2 separate regions of the Homo sapiens genome follow, and region 1 is linked to region 2. Evidence: promoter capture Hi-C in human tissues and cell types (Jung and others, 2019). All regions are on one chromosome and are shown on one strand. The core of a region is centred on a gene start or on the middle of the fragment in contact, and the rest is flanking DNA. Distances in the headings are between cores, read along the strand shown. Region 1 holds the start of VPS4A (vacuolar protein sorting 4 homolog A). Region 2 holds the start of LCAT (lecithin-cholesterol acyltransferase).

Region 1 (4,348 bases), core at 482-2,981, 1.4 Mb before region 2:
CTTGAACCCAGGAGGCGGAGGCCGCAATGAGTTGAGATTGTGCCACTGCACTCCAGCCTGGGTGACAGAATGAGACTGTCTCAAAAAAAAAAATTAATAAAAACAAAAATATATAACGGGTGAGTTATATGGTAAGCACGCAAGTTATACCTTAATAAAGCTGTGTTTAGGCCAGACCCGTGGCTCACACCTGTAATCCCAGCACTCTGGGAGGCCGAAGTGGGCAGATCATCTGAGGTCGGGAGTTCGAGACCAGCCTGGCCAACACGGTGAAACCCGGTCTCTACTAAAAATACAAAAATTAGCCGGGCGTGGTTGCGGGTGCCCGTAATCCCAGCTACTCAGGAGGCTGAGGCAGGAGAATCGCTTGAACCTGAGAGGCAGAGGCTGCAGTGAGCCAAGATCACACCACTGCACTCCAGTCTGGGTGACAGAGTGAGACTCCATCTCAAAAAAATAAATAAATAAAATTTAAAAATAAATAAATACACCTGTGTTTGAAACTGAAAAACATTCTCGGTTCACGGGCCATAAAAAACCTGCCTGGGCAGACGGGATCTGCGGCTTCTGCTGGTGGTACGGTGGGATCTGGCTATGGACTCTTAATTCCTAACCTGGTACCCCAACTCATTCCATGTCTGCTCCTACTTCTGCCCTCCTCCACCTCCAGGTCTCTGAATGCTACTGGAACTCTGATGTCCCTTCTTCCATGAAGTCTTGCCTAACTCTCCCAGGCACTTTGTTGGCTGTCACTTAATGGACACCTACTATGTGCCAGACATACAAGAATGCTTTACCGTAATTATTCAATTTAAAGCTATCATCACAACAACCTAGAGGGCATTACCCCATTTTACAGACCAGGAAACTCGAGACCCGAAGATGAAAAAAAAAAACTAGCCCAAGGTCACTTGCTGGTGAGTGGCAGAGCTGAGATTCAAACCCCGGAATGAGGCCTGAGCATGTTGATCTCTTCTGGCCCCGCAGGACTGACAGCACCTAGAGGGTGGGTCAGTTGTTCACCCAGGTGGCGCCATCCCAGCACCACCCTGCAGGATCTAGGGAATGAATGAAGGGTCGCTGGCCGAGAAGAGGAAGTCGAAGATTGGGGAAGGGGCCGGGGCTTGTTCGAAGTGAGGTCGAGGGACTTCCAGGACCCGGGACAGGAGAGGAGGGAGCGAGACAGGAGAGGAGGGAGCGAGCATCGCTGTCTGAACGCCCAGCCGGACCCCGGGCCGAGCTTCCTGAGGGTGCCTGTGCGGCTCGGGTGAGGCTGATCCCCACGGCGGTACCGGGGCGCCGGCTACACGAAGCGGCCCTGGGGCTGGGCCAGCCGGGCAGGGCCGGAAGGCCTGAGGGTGGAGATGCCACCCGGCTCCGAGCGCGTGGAAACAGACACGGGCGGAAGCGGCGAGGGGGCGGCCGGAGCGGGGTCGCGAGGCCGGGGCTGGGAGGCGCCCACCTGACCACCCGCCCGCCGCCCGGCTCTGCGGCCCGCAGGCCCCGCTGCCTTCGGCCTCCGAAGTCGGGCCGGGCCGCACGAAGTACCTGGAGGGTTGACGTTGTCATTTCATCTCCTGGGTCCGCCCCACACCCCGCGGCGCTGCTTGCGGCCTCGGTCCGGCCCCGGGGAGCCGAGGTACTGGGTCCGGCGCGGGAAGCCCGGCGGTGGGCGCTGAGCGCGGTGCGCGGGCAGGGCGGCCGCTCGCAGCGGGAGCCGAGTCCGAGGGCAAGCGAGGAGCGCAGCCCAGAGCGGTCGGGCCCGAGCCGAGCGGCTGCCCCCTAGCGTCCACGGCTCGCACTGCAGGCACCTCTCCCTGCCTCGGCGAAGGCAGGGGGCGGTTCGAGAGGCAGGACTGACTGGGGACGAGGAGGTGGGACTAGGGCGAGACGGACAGGGGGCGGGGACGGGGTGGGTGGGACAAGGCCGGGGCGGGGCCTGGCGGGACGTACATTCTCGGGGCGGGGCCAGGGGCGGAGCGGGGTAGAATCCGGAAATCCTGACCTCGCTTGGAATAACAGCGCCCATTGAGCAGTTTTATTCTCACAATAAAACGAACTTATCAGAGCGTTGGTTTCTCCATGTTTAATATCGCACGATCATAATTAGTACCTGCCTTGTCTGGCTTTTGTGGGGAATAAATGAGCTAGCTAATGTAAACAGAGTGTGCCCCACACTGGGGCTCAATCCCTGGTGGGATGCCGCTGACTGTTCAAAGCCAGTTTTGTTTTGCTTGGATTGATTGACTGATTGATTGATACGGAGTCTTGCTCTGTCGCCTAGGCTGGAGTGCAGTGGCATGATCTCGGCTCATTGCGACCTCCGCCTCCCGGGTTCAAGCGATTCTCCTGCTTCAGCCTCCCGAGTAGCTGGGATTACAGGCATGCACACCTACTGTGTGCAGCGTTGTGTGCTAGTTTCTGGGGATACAATGATCAAAGCAGTTCTAGGGCTGGGTGTACTGGCCCACGCCTGTAATTCCAGCACTTTGGGAGGCCAAGGCAGGAGGATTGCTTGAGCCGAGGATCAAGACCAGCTTGGGCAACATAGTAAGACCTCGTCGCTAAATTAAGAAACAAAACAAAACAAACAAACAAAAAAACGCACCAGAGGCAAGTGATCCATTTGTCCACAAGTCTATCCTGTGAGAGAAAAAAAATGGAGGGCAAAAAACATCCAAGTTGAGGCTGGGTATGGGGGCTCATGCCTGTAATCCCAACACTTTGGGAAGCCGAGGCAGGCCGATTGCTTGGGCCGAGGAATTCGAGAACAGCCTCGGCAACAGGTGAACCCCCATCGCTACAAAAAATAAAAAACGTATCTGGGCATGGTGGCGCACACCTGTAGTCCCAGCTACTCCGTAAGCTGAGTTGGGAGAATTGCTGGAGCCTGGGAGGTCGAGGCTGTAGTGAGCCGTGACCAGGCCATTGTACTCCACCCTGGGAAATGAAGCAAGACCCTGCCTCCAAAAAAAAAAAAAAAAAAAAAAAAAAAAAAAAAAAAAAAAAACCAAAAAATTGGCACACCTTAATCTCTCTTCACAAAATGCTAATTAAATACAAAGGAGAGGCCGGGCGCGGTGGCTCACGCCTATAATCCCAGTACTTTGGGAGGCCGAGGCAGGTGGATCACTTGAGGTCAGGAGTTCAAGACCAGCCTGGCCAACATGGTGAAACCCTGTCTCTACTAAAAATACAAAATATTCGCCGGCCATGGTGGTGGGCACCTGTAATCCCAGCTACTTGGGAGGCTGAGACAGGAGAATCGCTTGAACCTGGGAGGCGGAGGTTGCAGTGAGCCAAGACCACGCCATTGCACTCCAGCCTGGGCGACAAGAGCGGAACTCCATCTCTAAATAAATAAATAAATACAAAGGAGAAAACAATGAGGACATTAGCTTGACTACGCGACCGAAGGGAACACCCCTGGTGGTGGGATGCGTGGCCCTCGTGTGTCTCTCCACATGATACCCTGAAGAGAGCATGGCATCGTGGCATCTCTGCCAAGAGTGTGTGACACAGCCTGGTTGTGAGGCAACACCGAATAGAGCCAGCTGGAGAGCTGTGCTGAACAATCAAAGCCTTGTGCTGAGACTCAGGCACATGCGAATTAGAGTAAGGCCGAGGAACATTCCAGACTGAAGAACTGAGACACGACGACAAAAGGCAAGAAAGTGGTATTGGCCAGGATCCAAGGCCAGAGAGGAAAACAGGACATGGCCGGGATGGCTGGCATCATTTGAATGGGGTCTATGGAATGAGTGGTGGTGTGCCAATGTTGATTTCTTGATTAGGAGGACTTTATGGTGGCAATGCAAGGACTGTCCTTATGTTTTGGAGGTCCTCACTAGAGAATTTAAGGGTGCTAGAGAATCATATTAGAGAAAGACAAGGTAATGGAATAAATATGGCAAAATGTTAACAACTGGAAGGTTTGGGTGAAGAAGATTTGTATTGTTTTTGTAACTTTCCTGTAGGTTCAAAACTATTTCAGCATTTTAAAAATTGGAAAAAAAAAACAACCCACGTGACTAAAGCAACTTTTTTATTTACAGTATAAAGGTTACAAAGGTATATATGTATTTATATATATAATACCCTTAAGTTACACATTTTCATTGTAATGTACAATGCTGTATGTTGATGTGCTACTCAAGGGGAAGTGTTGTTTATGCATCTATATTTATAGAGTATACATAAAGCTTTTTAAAATTAGGAACACAAATACTGCCCTGTTTTACGCGTTGGGTTTTTGATTTGGTATCCAGAAGATCTGAGACTTAAATTTCAAACAAGACTTAAAAAGAAGGCTTGTTTAAATACAGGGTTCTAAAAAGAAGGAAAAAAC
Region 2 (4,178 bases), core at 1,679-4,178:
CTCCTCACCTTCGCCTCCCAGCTCAAGGCTGGCAAGGGCCTGACCATTGTTGGTTCTGTCATCCAGGGGAGCTTCTTGGAGAGCTATGGCGAGGCTCAGGCCGCCGAGCAGGTACTTGCTTTGGGGAGGGAGAGCTGAGCCAGACTACAGGGGTCTGGACTGCAGCTGGCACGGAGGGGAGGGCCCAGTCTTGGCCAGGGTGGCCAGCCAGGCAGCCAGCACTGCTGCCACCTGAGAGCTGGCACAAGGGGGAGCCAGCAGTCCCATCTTGAAAACTTGGCCTCTGGGTAGGCAGCTTGTTGCCCCCAGGCCCTCCTCCACCCAAAAGTCGTTTTGTTCCCGAGGGGCCTTGGGAGGGAGCCCAGAGGCAGGAAGCTGATGGCCTCCCATTGGCCCTGGGTGTGTTCCCCACAGACCATCAAGAACATGATGGAAATTGAGAAGGTGAAGGGCTTCTGCCAGGTGGTGGTGGCCAGCAAGGTGCGGGAGGGGCTGGCCCACCTCATCCAGTCCTGTGGCCTGGGAGGCATGCGGCATAACTCCGTGGTGCTGGGCTGGCCCTACGGCTGGCGACAGAGCGAGGACCCCCGTGCCTGGAAGACCTTCATTGGTGTGTGAAGGCCTGGGGCCTGGTGGGCAGGGGTGAAGTGAGGTGGCAGTGGGCGGAGGGCCACAGACTGGTGGTCAGCCGTGCTCCTCCTCCCCAGACACCGTGCGCTGCACTACGGCTGCCCACCTGGCCCTGCTCGTGCCCAAGAACATCGCCTTCTACCCCAGCAACCACGAGCGCTACCTGGAGGGCCACATAGACGTGTGGTGGATCGTGCACGATGGTGGCATGCTCATGCTTCTGCCCTTCCTGCTGCGCCAGCATAAGGTAGACCAGGGGGTGGGTGCAGATGAGAGGGGCTAGGCCCTTGGAGGAGCAGCTGTGACCAAACCGCCCACCTGGTCCCTTGCCTCAGGTCTGGAGGAAGTGCCGGATGCGCATCTTCACAGTGGCCCAGATGGATGACAACAGCATCCAGATGAAGAAGGACCTGGCTGTCTTTCTGTACCATCTGCGCCTTGAGGCCGAGGTGGAGGTGGTGGAGATGGTGAGCCCTCTGCCCTGCCCTGGCCCCGTGGATACCATGTCCCGTGCAGCTGGGTCCTCACGGCCAACCCTGTCCCCAGCATAACAGTGACATCTCTGCATACACCTACGAGCGGACGCTGATGATGGAGCAGCGGTCGCAGATGCTGCGGCAGATGAGACTGACCAAGACTGAGCGGGAGCGAGAAGTCAGTGCCCTTTGTGGTTCACGCCAGGGCGGGTGGCAGGGTCAGGCCTTTGGAGACCGCATCGGTGGGTGCGGAGGAATCAGAATGACTCACCGCAGCCCTACCCAAGCTAGTGCTCATTTCCCGGAGGCAAGGTGGTCACATTGGGCCAGACAGGCCCCATCCCCCTTTTCCTATGGGACCAAGGCTATCTCCTGCAATTGTCCTCAGGCCCAGCTGGTCAAGGATCGGCACTCGGCCCTGCGGCTGGAGAGCCTGTACTCGGACGAGGAAGATGAGTCTGCAGTGGGGGCTGACAAGATCCAGATGACGTGGACCAGGGACAAGTACATGACTGAGACCTGGGACCCCAGCCATGCCCCTGACAATTTCCGGGAGCTGGTGCACATTAAGCCGTGAGTGCAGCAAAAACAGCCCCAGCGGCACTGGAATCTAGGGGTGGAGGTGGGGTGGGGCAGACAAGTAGTGTTAGATGGGCCAGGGGTGGGGACCCTCCTTGCAGGATGGCTCATGGCGACCTGTGACTGGCTACACTACGTGTAGGGACCAATCCAATGTGCGGCGCATGCACACTGCTGTGAAGCTCAATGAAGTCATTGTCACGCGCTCCCACGACGCCCGCCTGGTTCTCCTAAACATGCCTGGCCCACCCAGGAACAGTGAGGGCGACGAGAACTGTATCCCTTTGTGGAGAGGCAGGCAGTTGGGAGGTGGATAGCATGGGAGGTCAAGCCAGCGGCTTCTCTCCTGGGCACCCCTGGGTGGGCATGGCCCAGGTGGCCCGGGTTGCCCGTTGATTCTGTTGTTGCCTCCTTGACTTGAGGCCCTGCAGACATGGAGTTCCTCGAGGTGCTGACCGAGGGCCTTGAGCGGGTGCTGTTGGTGCGCGGTGGTGGCCGTGAAGTCATCACCATCTACTCCTGAGCCCAGTGTCATCTTGTGGCCTGGAGTCGAGGTCTTGGCCAGGACATAACAAGCTGTGGTCTGGGGTAACAGCCTCTTCCCAGCACCCACCTGCCAGCCCTGCTTGCCTGGCCCTGTCCTGGACCCAGCTTTGCTAGGTCTCCTTGGAAACCAGGCCTGGGCCTCAAAATGGAGATGGATCCCAGGTCTTGTGGGACCCTGGGATGTTTGGGGACTTTACTATCTAGCACCCCAGTAGGCCTGTCCTGGCCAGAGAAGACTGGTAGGGGCCGAGTGGGGTTTGAAGGCAGCCGGCCCGGCCCAGCCCAGGAGCGCTATTTATTGCATATTTATTGTTTGGATGTCACCATCAGAGACGAAGGGAAGGGTAGCCAGGGAGGGAGTCCAGCCCAGCTGCCTGCAGGAAGATCTGGCTCAGTCTACTATGGGCAGGGCCCCCCACCAAGCTGAGCCGAATGGAGACAGCTGAGCTGAGGCCTGACTTTTTCAATAAAACATTGTGTAGTTCTGGGCCTCCTGCTGCCCCGGCTCTGTTTCCCCTGGCGCCAAGAGAAGAAGGCGGAACTGAACCCAGGCCCAGAGCCGGCTCCCTGAGGCTGTGCCCCTTTCCGGCAATCTCTGGCCACAACCCCCACTGGCCAGGCCGTCCCTCCCACTGGCCCTAGGGCCCCTCCCACTCCCACACCAGATAAGGACAGCCCAGTGCCGCTTTCTCTGGCAGTAGGCACCAGGGCTGGAATGGGGCCGCCCGGCTCCCCATGGCAGTGGGTGACGCTGCTGCTGGGGCTGCTGCTCCCTCCTGCCGCCCCCTTCTGGCTCCTCAATGTGCTCTTCCCCCCGCACACCACGCCCAAGGCTGAGCTCAGTAACCACACACGGCCCGTCATCCTCGGTAAGCCCCCACCAGGCCCCTGATGCACCACGCCAGACCCTGGGGAGCCTGGGCCCCAGCCCCTGGCAGCTGACCTGGCCAAAGCCCTTCTGCCCTGCATAAGCCCCGACATAAGTACCTGCCCTGGTGTGGGGAGGGGCCAAAAGCTTGTCCCTTAGAGGAATGACGTCCCTTCTCCCACCACACTGTGACTCTCAGTTGTCTAACCCAGGGGGGGCGGAGTGGGGGACGGGGTGTGCCTGAGGTCTTGGCTGGGGCATCACAAGCTGTGGTCAGTCACAGCCACACCAGACTCTGGGCCAAGCCCCACCACTCCTTCCTTGGCCCCCACCCACCAAGGACAAGATGCCCAGCCCAGGATCGGTGAGCAGGAGAGGCCCATCCATGCCCGGCCCCTATTAGGCCCAGCCCCCATGCCCCCAGACCTATCTGTTCCCACCTTGGACTTTGGCAATAAAGGAGCGCCAGACTGGGTGTTTGCTCTGCAGAGGCAGGGGTCAGCGGCCTTGGCCTCAGCACCTCAGCGCCTTCCCTTCCTCAGGGAAGCCTGGGCTTTGGCTACTGGGGGGACAGCAGGGAGAGGGGGTGTAAGCAGGGGAGGGTAAGTGTGCTTTGTACCTGGGGGTTGAGGGTATGGGAGGTGGGGGGTGGGTCTGGTCACTGCAGCATCTGGGGTGACGGGGGTAAGGGTCACGGGGGGAATCCAGAGTCCAGAGTGAGGGCTGCTGCTCACAGTGCCCGGCTGCCTGGGGAATCAGCTAGAAGCCAAGCTGGACAAACCAGATGTGGTGAACTGGATGTGCTACCGCAAGACAGAGGACTTCTTCACCATCTGGCTGGATCTCAACATGTTCCTACCCCTTGGGGTAGACTGCTGGATCGATAACACCAGGTACAGCCATGTGCTCCACCCTAGCCCCAACACGCTGCCCCTTGGCTACTGGCTGCTGAGTGGCACCCCCGCCCCGCAGGGTTGTCTACAACCGGAGCTCTGGGCTCGTGTCCAACGCCCCTGGTGTCCAGATCCGCGTCCCTGGCTTTGGCAAGACCTACTCTGTGGAGTACCTGGACAGCAGCA

What was found. The method cuts DNA at HindIII sites, captures the fragments that hold promoters and counts their contacts. A contact is called where the count stands out against the background at its distance.
Region 1: the fragment with the promoter of VPS4A here is called in contact with the fragment with the promoter of LCAT in region 2 in 1 of the 25 tissues and cell types used here (dorsolateral prefrontal cortex).

Annotation. Positions count from the first base shown.
Region 1 is chr16:69,308,733-69,313,080 of GRCh38, reverse strand. It overlaps VPS4A (vacuolar protein sorting 4 homolog A), which reads right to left and starts at 1,731. Exons shown (of 11, transcript NM_013245.3): 1 at 1,549-1,731. The coding sequence starts at 1,569. SNTB2 (syntrophin beta 2) reads right to left here. Exons shown (of 7, transcript NM_006750.4): 7 at 4,029-4,348. RefSeq lists silencers at 1,267-1,816, 1,877-2,016 and enhancers at 959-1,908, 1,909-2,859. The HindIII fragment of the contact is 10,929 bases long and covers 1-4,348 here.
Region 2 is chr16:67,942,870-67,947,047 of GRCh38, reverse strand. LCAT (lecithin-cholesterol acyltransferase) reads left to right here and starts at 2,928. Exons shown (of 6, transcript NM_000229.2): 1 at 2,928-3,100; 2 at 3,836-3,992; 3 at 4,072-4,178. The coding sequence starts at 2,947. It overlaps SLC12A4 (solute carrier family 12 member 4), which reads left to right. Exons shown (of 24, transcript NM_005072.5): 17 at 1-111; 18 at 415-610; 19 at 708-877; 20 at 966-1,097; 21 at 1,177-1,284; 22 at 1,495-1,679; 23 at 1,828-1,961; 24 at 2,117-3,574. The coding sequence ends at 2,208. RefSeq lists an enhancer at 3,797-4,178. The HindIII fragment of the contact is 35,269 bases long and covers 1-4,178 here.